2 separate regions of the Homo sapiens genome follow, and region 1 is linked to region 2. The links are contacts of gene promoters, found by promoter capture Hi-C in human tissues and cell types (Jung and others, 2019). All regions are on one chromosome and are shown on one strand. Each heading gives the region's core, a stretch centred on a gene start or on the middle of the fragment in contact. The rest is flanking DNA. Distances are from core to core; before and after follow the strand shown. Region 1 overlaps ADAT1 (adenosine deaminase tRNA specific 1). Region 2 holds the start of CHST6 (carbohydrate sulfotransferase 6).

Region 1 (4,895 bases), core at 1,309-3,808, 120 kb before region 2:
TTTTATTTTGTAGAGATTTGGTCTCACTGTGTTAGCCAGGCTGGTCTCAAACTCCCAGCCTCAAGCTATCCTCCTGCCTTGGCCTCCCAAAGTGCTGGGATTACAGGCATGAGCTATTGCGTCCCTGGCCGAGATCTGGGGTCTTTACCTCTTCTAGCTAGCAGGTTCCTCTTTGAGTTGGCTTCTACCATTCTCCTTGCCTTAACCTCCTGTATATGAGGAACCTGTTCCAGGATCACTGTGGATTGGATTAGATGGAATTGTACCACCATGAGCACAAGTAGGATACTTCTGTACAAAAGATCTAGACCTTTGTTCTCCGAATGAGGTTTTTCTATAAATTAATGTTTCTCACCTGGGGGTGATTTGCATCCCAGAGGACATTTCGCAATGTCTAGAGACATTTTTAGTTGTCACAACTGAGGGAGGGGTGCTAGTGTCATCTCATGGGTAGAGGCCAGGAATACTACTAATAAACAGTCTACAGTGTATGGATGGAATAGATCCCCCACAACAAAAAATTTTCTGGCCCAAAATGTCTACAGTGCTGGGTTGAGAAACCCTGCACCTGATGCATTGTTATTCATGATTGTGGTACCTTCTGGCAAAGCTCTCCAGGAGCTACATGACCATCCTGGGTGCTGGTGGGACTGCTGTGTTCTGCTTCTAGGAACCAGACCCTCTCCAGCTTCCATATGTCTTCACCTGGTGTCCTATCTTTGCCGCAGGAGACATCCTCAATGATAGCCATGCTGAGGTCATAGCCAGAAGGAGTTTCCAAAGGTAAAGCCACATCTCCAGAGTATGGTTCAGCAGGACTGGGGTGGGAGTCCCGGAATTTACTTTTTTTTTTTTTTTTGGGGGGGACAGAGTCTTGCTCTGTTGCCCAGGCTGGAGTGCAGTGGCATGATCTCAGCTCACTGCAACCTCCGCCTGCTGGGTTCAAGCAATTCTCCTGCCTCAGCCTCCCAAGTAGCTGAGACTACAGGCCCGTGCCACCATGCTCAACTAATTTTTTGTGTTTTTAGTAGAGATGGGGTTTCACCATGCTGGCCAGGCTGGTTTTAAACTCCTGACCTCATTATCCACACGCCTCAGTCTCTCAAAGTGCTGGGATTACAGGTGTGAGCCACCGCGCCTCACCCAGAATTTACATTTCTAATAAGCTCCTAGGTAATACAGATGATATTAGTCTGTAAACTACACTTTTGAGTAGTAATGTGGTCTAGACTAGTGGTTCTCTCTTTTTTTTTTTTTTTTTTTTTTTTTTGGACACAGGGTCTTGCTCTGTTACCTAGGCTAGAGTGCAGTGATGTGATCTCAGCTCATTGCAGCCTTGGCCTCCTGGGACTCAAGCAAGCCTCCCACCTCAGCCTCCTGAATAGCTGGGGTTACAGGCGCATGCCACCACACCCAGCTAACTTTTCCTGGGTTTTTTTTTTTTTTTAAAGACAGGGTGTCACTATGCTACCCAGGCTGGTGTTGGATTCCTGGGGCTCAAGCGATCCTCCTGCCTCAGCCTCCTAAAGTGCCGGATTTACAGGCATGAGTCACAATCCTGGCCTGGACTAGTGGTACTCAAACTTGATTGTACATCAGAAGAACCTAGAAGGCTTGTTAAAACCCAGATTGCTGAGCCCACCACAGAGATTCTGATTCAGCATATCTAGGGTGGAACCTCAGAAATTGGGTTTCTTCTTTCTTTTTTATTTTTCTAAAAAAAAAAAAAGAAACAAAAATAGAGTCTCACTCTGTCACCCAAGCTGAAGTACAGTGGCAGAATCATAGCTCACTACAGCCTCAAACTCCTGGGCTTAAGCAGTCTTCCTGCCTCAGTCTCCCAAGTAGCTGGGGTTACAGATATGAGCCACCGAGGCCAGTTGAAATTGGAGGTCTAACAAATTCCCAGGTGATGCTGATGCTGCTGGTACAGGGACCACACTTTGAGAATCACTGGTCTAGAGCATTCTCATAATTCCCCATCACTACCAGTCCCATTAGTCTACAGTAAGCTGTCTTAGTAATCACCCAACCAGAGGCTTTCCCCTTACCACAGAGATCGGTTGTTCATCCTAATAACATCTTGCAACCCTTAGGTACCTTCTCCACCAACTCCAGTTGGCAGCCACCCTGAAAGAGGATAGCATCTTTGTCCCAGGAACTCAAAAAGGAGTGTGGAAACTTAGACGAGACCTCATTTTTGTGTTTTTCTCCAGCCATACACCCTGTAAGTATATTCAAGCCTTTGGATTAATGTTACATGAACTACTTCCTTATGTTTGTGTTATCCATAGGTAGGTTTTTTCCTAAAAAGCACTAATGGCTGAAGTAGCCACAGGTAGTCACAAGTAGCCACAAGTAGTGACAGTGCCTTTTTATGACAGGCTAGTGTACCTAATCACTTCTAAAGGTTTCATCTAAAGAGAAGACAGAGGCAAGGGGTGCAGAGTCTCACTCATACTATTAGTCAATTCTCAGAATCAGGATTAGGAGCGTAAGGCTGAAACCTCACAAGATGTGAAGCCAACATGGGGCTTGGAAATCCTATAGTGACTTATCCTAAAACTCATTTCGTTCATTTAGTCATTGAACAAATACTTTCTACTATTTGTCAGGCACGATATGACATACTGAGTATACAGAAATGAATAAGACTAGCATATTGCTTACCTTCATAGTCTTTTAGGAAATGTAGACAGTCATGGTTAGTTAGGGTAAATTTTGGTGGGTTATAAGGGTATGTTCAGGTGCTATGGTTGCATAAGACAGGAAGACCTAGCCTGGGGTGAAGGGGGTGTCATTTCCGTCTTTTGTTTTTCTTTCTTAAAAATTGAAAATAACTTCTACCTTTTGTGGATAACAACTCAGGATGGCAGCAAAATTTTCTCACCCTAAAACCTTTGAAATAAGGATATAAGATTAAACCTTAAAACTTTTAAGCTTTAAAGCTAACACATGCAATTAGAGCAGAGATAAGAAATCACTATGAAGAAATAGAATAGCTGTGTAGATTTGATCATAACTCAAATTGAAAATATAGATACAGCTTAAGAAAGAATGAGGCCAGGCACGGTGGCTCACACCTGTAATGCCAGGACTTTGGGAGTCCGAGGCGGGCAGATCACTTGAGGTCGAGAGTTCCAGACCAGCCTGACCAACATGGAGAAACCCCATTTCTACTAAATATACAAAATTAGCTGGGCATGGTGGTGCATGCCTGTAATCCCAGCTACTCGGGAGGCTGAGGCAGGAGAATCATTTGAACCCGGGAGGCAGAAGTTGCAGTGAGCCGAGATTGCGCCGTTGCACTCCAGCCTGGATGACCCGGCAAGACTCAGTCAAAAAGAAGGGAAAAAAAAAAAAAGAGAGAGAAGAAAGAAAGAGTATGAGAAAAGAGTTTTAAGAGTCAAAGCCCAGAAAAATGACAGGTAGGCAGCACTCATCCTTGCTCTTTTCTTAGCCGTAAGGGCCCTAGTCCAAGGCCCAAAGGTTGTTTCCTAATCAGCTCCTCTCAAGCTGTAATATGCACATGAATCTCCTGAAGAACATGCAGATTGAGATTCATTAGGTCTGGAGTGGGGCCTGAGGTTCTGCATTTCTAGCCAACTCCCAAGGCATGCCAGCAGTGTGGGTCCATAGACCACACATTGAGTAGCTAGGACCGGGGTGATCCCAGTGACAGCTATAGCCTTATTGTGGAGAAAGAAGCATCTGAGGATCACAGCCTGATGGCCTAATCCAAACTTGTCTAACCCACGGCCTGCCTGGCTACATGCAGCCCAGGACAGCTTTGAATGTGGCCCAAGACAAATTCTTAAACTTTCTTAAAACATTATGAGATTTTTCTTGCGATTTTTTTTTTTTTTTTTTTTTTTTTTTTTTTTTTTTAGCTCATCAACTATCGTTTGCGTTCGTGTATTTTGTGTGTGGCCCAAGACAATTTTTATTCTTCCAATGTGGCCCAGGGAAGCCAAAATACTGGACACTTATGTAGTTTGATTATGCCCTTATCAAACTCCTTAAGTCAGTGGTCAACAAACAGGTACTGATCTGTGAGAACAGTCCCTGAAAAAAACCAAGAAAGCTCAAGACTATGTAGTGAATTTTGCAAAACTAATTTCTTTCACTTTAAAGGAAATGAGAGTTTTTTTTTAAGTGATGGCGATTGAATTTTTTTTTTTTTTCTCGATCTCGGCTCATTGCAATCTCCACCTCCCGGGTCCAGGCGATTCTCCTGCCTTGGCCTCCCAAGTAGGTGGGAATATAGGCATGCGCCACCACGCCCGGCTAATTTTTTTGTATTTTTAGTAGAAACAGGGTTTCACCACATTGGCCAGGCTGGTCTCGAACTCCTGACCTCAAGTGATTCGCCCACCTCGGCCTCCCAAAGTGCTGAGATTACAGGCATGAACCACTGCGCCTGGCCGGTAATTGAGATTTTTAAAGATCTTCCTTGATGGAATAAAAAGTTGGCAACCCTCTGTTCATCTTAAAAATCTTCAGGAAATTTTGCTGGTAATCTTTTAAAATGTGATGTCCTCCCATGGTTTGTCTGCAGAGAGAGAGAACATTACCTAGAGAATGTGCCTCTCTGGCTCCCTTGGTATTTACATCCTATGAGTAATTAATAATTTGTTGGCTGGGTTAGCTACTTCAGGCTCTTATGAGTTTTATTAGCATGAGTCAGGCTCTTGCATTCAGGCATTCTGTCAAGATCCAATTTCCAAGCCTGCAGAGTGGGAGATGGACCCTGGTGAGTTCTCCAAAGTCACTGTGACCTTGTGAGGTCTCTGGAAGTCAGCCAGCCAACCTCTCCAGATGTATTCCCACTTCTGTATCTCTTGCCTTTCCCACTCTTGAGTTATAAAGATTACAGATGTATTATTTATACACTT
Region 2 (4,891 bases), core at 1,871-4,370:
TCTCCTCCAAGAACACATGGAGCTGCTTCCTGATCCCAAGCAGGTCGTTGCCCCTGGAAGGACATGGCTCCGGTGATCCATGCTTCATGCCCACCCAGAAACACACCCCTCAGTGTGTGCCTCAGTTTACCTTGGAGATCATTTTTCATCTCCAGCATCCGTTTCCTTTAGGCTGACTAAAAACAGTTTTGGAAACAAAGCTATTTTGAAGTATTCAAGCAGAGGAATTCTCTAACACTGTCCCCCTTGTCTTTTTTTAATATTCTGGCTATTTTAGATGCCTAAATTTTTTTCTTGAGATTTATTTATTTTTATAGATGGGGTTTTCACTATGTTGCCCAGGCTGGTCTTGAACTCCCAACCTCAGGAAATCCTCCTGTCTCAGCCCCACAAAGTGCCAGGAATATAGGCATGGGCCAGTGTGCCCCGTCTCTTGAGACTGAAATGAAAAATTGCTTGTGGTTTAAATCCCCAGAATTTAATGAAACATGGGAAGATGGCTAAAGATACGTATAAACTTTGGTTTGCATTTTATTAAATTATTTGAATGCAAAACTTGTATAAAGAATCCATTATGTTCTGTAGCTTTCTAATTAAAATGTTCAACATGGAAGGTTGTATTAGCTATTTTTGAAGCAAGGCTTTGGAGGGAGGAAGAATAGGGAGGGCTGAAGTTGAGCACACTTCTCCGAGTTACTCACCAGTAGCCTTGCTTTGCCACGGCTCTGCCCAAAGACCTTGGAGCTTTTGTTAGCTCTTTGGCAAAAGTTTCCTGGTCCAACCCCAAGTATATTAGTTTTTAGTGGAATCCACATGGCATATGGGAGCTGCGGGTTGGAAAATTACAACTGTGTCTGGTGAATATCAAATTATTTACGGATCATTTATTGGTAGTTTCTGAAACTGAACCACACAGCATAGTTGCAGGAGGAAGAAAGGTAAGAAATACACAGGATTTTATCAACTGAGCTGAAGCCATAGATAAGTCATATTTGAGATAATTATTGAATTTGTTTTGTGGGAGAGAAATCTCTAATTCTTCCAAATGATTAGTCCAGTTTCTGCCAAAGCAGGTGAGGTGTCTAATGCCCCACTGAGTGCCCATCTTGAAGCTTATTAAAGCAATTCTCTCTCTTTGCGTCCCTCTTACCTTATCCTCCACATCCTTGCCCCCTCTCCTTATTCATGCTTTGTAAAGAGGTTTTGGAGCTTTCTGGCCAGATAACTTCTAAATACTGATTAAGGAAATGTAAATTACATGATCCTAAGGAAAATAATGATTGCCGGCCAATCCCCTACCCAGAGTTATGGTTGGCCTTCTGGCACACATCTTTCTATCCCATACACTATTTCTAACTTTTTAAAAATCATGAACAGGCCGGGCACGGTGGCTCATGCCTGTAATCCGAGCACTTTGGGAGACAGAGGCGGGCAGATCACATCTGAGCTCAGGAGTTCGAGACCAGCCTGGACAACATGGTGAAACCCTGTCTCTACTAAAAGTACAAAAATTAGCCTGGCGTGGTGGTGGGCACCTGTAATCCCAGCTATTCAGGAGGCTGAGGCAAGAGAATCACTTGAACTCGAGAGGCGGAGGTTGCAGTGAGCCTAGATCCTGCCATTGCACTCCAGCCTGGGCTACAAAAGTGAGACTCCATCTGAAAAAAAAATCAGTATCAAAATCATGAACAACACTTATATGAACCCTGTACATAAATCCTTGTTTCTGGTTTATTTCCTTAAGATAGCTCCTAGAAAGGAATTACCAATCCGAAAAGCTTACGACCATTGTCAAGAATCTTAATTCATCTTGCCAAACCACAACCAGGAAGGACTGCTTATTTCTTCTCCCAGCAGCAGGGAGTTCTTGATTAAGATCCCATCACTAATTTGACAAGACCTAGAAATGCTTCATCCTTTTCAGGTGCCTGGGCTCTGCCCTGTTATTTGTAAAGGGGATTTTTTTTTTTTTTTTTTTTGAAACAGTTTCGCTCTGTCGCCCAGGCTGGAGTGCAGTGGTGCAATCTCAGCTCACTGCAACCTCCGCTTCCTGGGCTCAAGCAGTTCTCCTGCCTTAGCCTCCTGAGTAGCTAGGATTACAGGTGCCTGCCACCACGCCCGGCTAATTTTTGTATTTTTAGTAGAGACGGGGTTTCACCCTGTTGGCCAGGCTGGTCTCGAACTCCTGACCTCGTGATCCACCCACTACGGCCCCCCAAAGTGCTGGGATTACAGGCGTGAGACACCGCGCCTGGCCGGATTTTTTTTTTTTTTTTTTGCGAGGGAGTCTCGCTTTGTCGCCCAGGCTGGAGTGCAGTGGTGCGATCTCGGCTCACTGCAAGCTCCGCCTCCCGGGTTCACGCCATTCTCCTGCCTCAGCCTCCCGAGTAGCTGGGACTACAGGTGCCCGCCACCAGGCCTGGCTAATTTTTTTGTATTTTTAGTAGAGACGGGGTTTCACTGTGTTAGCCAGGATGATTTCGATCTCCTGACCTCGTGATCCGCCCGCCTCGGCCTCCCAAAGTGCTGGGATTACAGGCGTGAGCCACCGCGCCCAGCCCTGGCCGGAAATATCTTATTTATTGAAACGTATCATGTCTTTATCTGGACCTGCTATGAACCTGCGCCTCTGGGCCTAGGCTAGGGCAGGGAATGCGCAGGAGGAGGGGAAAAGCTGCGGACCCAGCTCCTAAGGCCACCTGGTCTCTCCGCTCTTCCCAGTTGGGACACTGCACCGGGTCCATGTGTCATCCAGGTGCCGTGGCCTTGGGAAGGGTTTGGATTCCAAGTCACCTCGCCGCAAGGATGCCCCCGAGAGTGAGGAGGGTCAAGATTAAGATTCGACTTCCTTCACTAGGGCCTTTGTCCTCCCAGGAGCCCCCCTTCTCTGGGGATTTGGGGTGGGGTGGGGTACAACGTTCCTCTGTAGTCAGATGAGAGGTGACTCTGCCAGCGCCCTTTGACATTCTGGGCTAAAAGTTGAGCCTCTCAGAGCCCCAGCCCACCTGGGCCCTCCTGCCCCGCCCTCGGCCGGCGCCCCTCCCCCGAGGCGTGGCCCCTCGGTCGGGGGTGGGCCAACCGGCTCCTTCCTTCCCCCACGGCGCTAGCTCCCGCTGGCCACCTCGGGACCGCAGCCACGTCTGAAAGCGCCTCATTGTGTGCGCTCGGGCGGGCTGCACCGGGCAGCGCCGAGGGTTGCCGGCCGGCGCGCGGGGAGTAGAGGGCGCGGGCCGCAGTGCCGGGTTCCAGAGGGAGCTCTGCGCCGGGTCCTTCCCTGTGGTAGCCCCAGGACACCCCCAGCCTCAACATCCCATTCTGGGACTCCTGCCCTGTTCCCACATTCGTTCTACCTCGAGTCTCCAGGAGCTTCCAGTGGCTTGGTCACCGCCAACTCTCGTCCATGCCTCTTAGAGCCCCTTTCCCGGCCTCACCGGGTGTCGCTTAATAGTCTTGGGACCTTAAGGAGCAAGTCAGCCCCTGCGGACCCTCCCAGTGAAGAGAAAGAGCTGGCTGTGCGGTGGAATTTGGAAGAGACGACGTTTGGGAGCCTTTGCTGAGTCCAGGGAGAGAGGCGTCCCCCACCGTGCCGCTGCAGCTCGGGCAGAGCCGCCAAGCTTTGGGGTACGTTGGTTCTTCATTCTCCGCGGGGGATGTCCCCACACTCGGGTCGGCTGGGGGCCGGGCTGGTGGCACAGCTGGGGACGCTCCTCTGTCCTGCACCGGGGACCTGGGGTGGCGGGAAGAGCTGGGAGTGGCTTTTCCATCAGCAACGTGGAAAGGGCATCGCCGCTGTTGGCGCCGGTTTGGAAGTGTCTTGCTGGGGCTTCGGCTGCGCAGGAGAATCCTCACTGCGAGGGGAGAACCCCTTTTGTCTCGATACTTGAGTTTCAAAGGACATGACTTTCAAAAGCTCTCCAAGGGCTTTTTCCATAGAATTATTGAGAGACGGTAGCTTGGCGGGTTGATTTGGAACCAGACCCAGGGGAATTGGAGTCCTGCGTCACTGCTTCTGACGGCTTCATCTTGGGCTTCAGGACAGGCCCTCTGGGCCTCAGGACAGGTGCCTAGCAAATGTTGACTTTCCTTTCTCCTCCCTTTTTCACAGAGGCAAGGCAGTCAAGTTTCCCATTTTTGAGGATGGGAAAACTGAGGCCTGAAGAGCAGAAAGGAGTTGGCTGACTTAAACCCACAAGCGAGTAGGCCAAGTACCAGGGCCTCTGAGGGTGCTATGCTGCTCCGGGAGCTGGGGCTGGGCTCCTCTCCAGCCTGAGAGGCCGGAACTTTTCTGGCTTTGTTCTACAAACAGAGTCAACTGGAGTATAGAGAGCCAGAGAGTGACTTGCTCTAAGTCACACCCCTCACTGGTAGTAGAGACAGGATTTGAACCCAATCCGGCTTCAGAAGCCAAGCTTCTAAGGCCAGTCGCAGTGGTTCACGCCTGTAATCCCAGCACTTTGGGAGGCCGAGGCAGGTGGATCACCTGAGGTCAGGAGTTCAAGACCAGCCTGGCCAACATGGTGAAACCCCATCTCTACTAAAAATACAAAAATAAGCTGGGCATGGTGGTGAGTGCCTGTAATCCCAGCTACTTGGGAGGCTGAGGCAGAAGAATCACTTGAACCCAGGAGGCGGAGGTTGCAGTGAGCTGAGATTGCGGTACTTCACTCCAGTCTGGACAACAGCGAGACTCCATCTCAGAAAAAACACAAGCCAGGCCTCTAGCCATGACTTTCCAGCGTCTTCTGTTTTGTTTGCCCTTGTGGGGACCCTGTCTGTGCCTGCCACATTCTGTTGCTGGGGCACTGGGGCACCTGAATCTGGTAGAGCCATTGTCCTTGGGTTTTCCTCATTCAAAGACTTTCCCTTGGATTCATAGAATATAAGTGTGGCC

The links. Contacts are between HindIII fragments. The study calls those that stand out against the background at their distance.
Region 1: a fragment that was not itself captured here is called in contact with the fragment with the promoter of CHST6 in region 2 in 3 of the 25 tissues and cell types used here (H1 embryonic stem cells, aorta and heart right ventricle).

What each region holds. Positions count from the first base shown.
Region 1 is chr16:75,614,474-75,619,368 of GRCh38, reverse strand. ADAT1 (adenosine deaminase tRNA specific 1) reads left to right here. Exons shown (of 10, transcript NM_001324445.2): 4 at 729-783; 5 at 2,097-2,227. Among named protein-coding and RNA genes, the nearest start is that of ADAT1, 6.4 kb to the left of the region's middle. The HindIII fragment of the contact is 7,833 bases long and covers 1-4,895 here.
Region 2 is chr16:75,493,670-75,498,560 of GRCh38, reverse strand. It overlaps CHST6 (carbohydrate sulfotransferase 6), which reads left to right and starts at 3,120. Exons shown (of 3, transcript NM_021615.5): 1 at 3,120-3,621. RefSeq lists a silencer at 2,917-3,246 and an enhancer at 3,547-3,726. The HindIII fragment of the contact is 2,567 bases long and covers 1,446-4,012 here.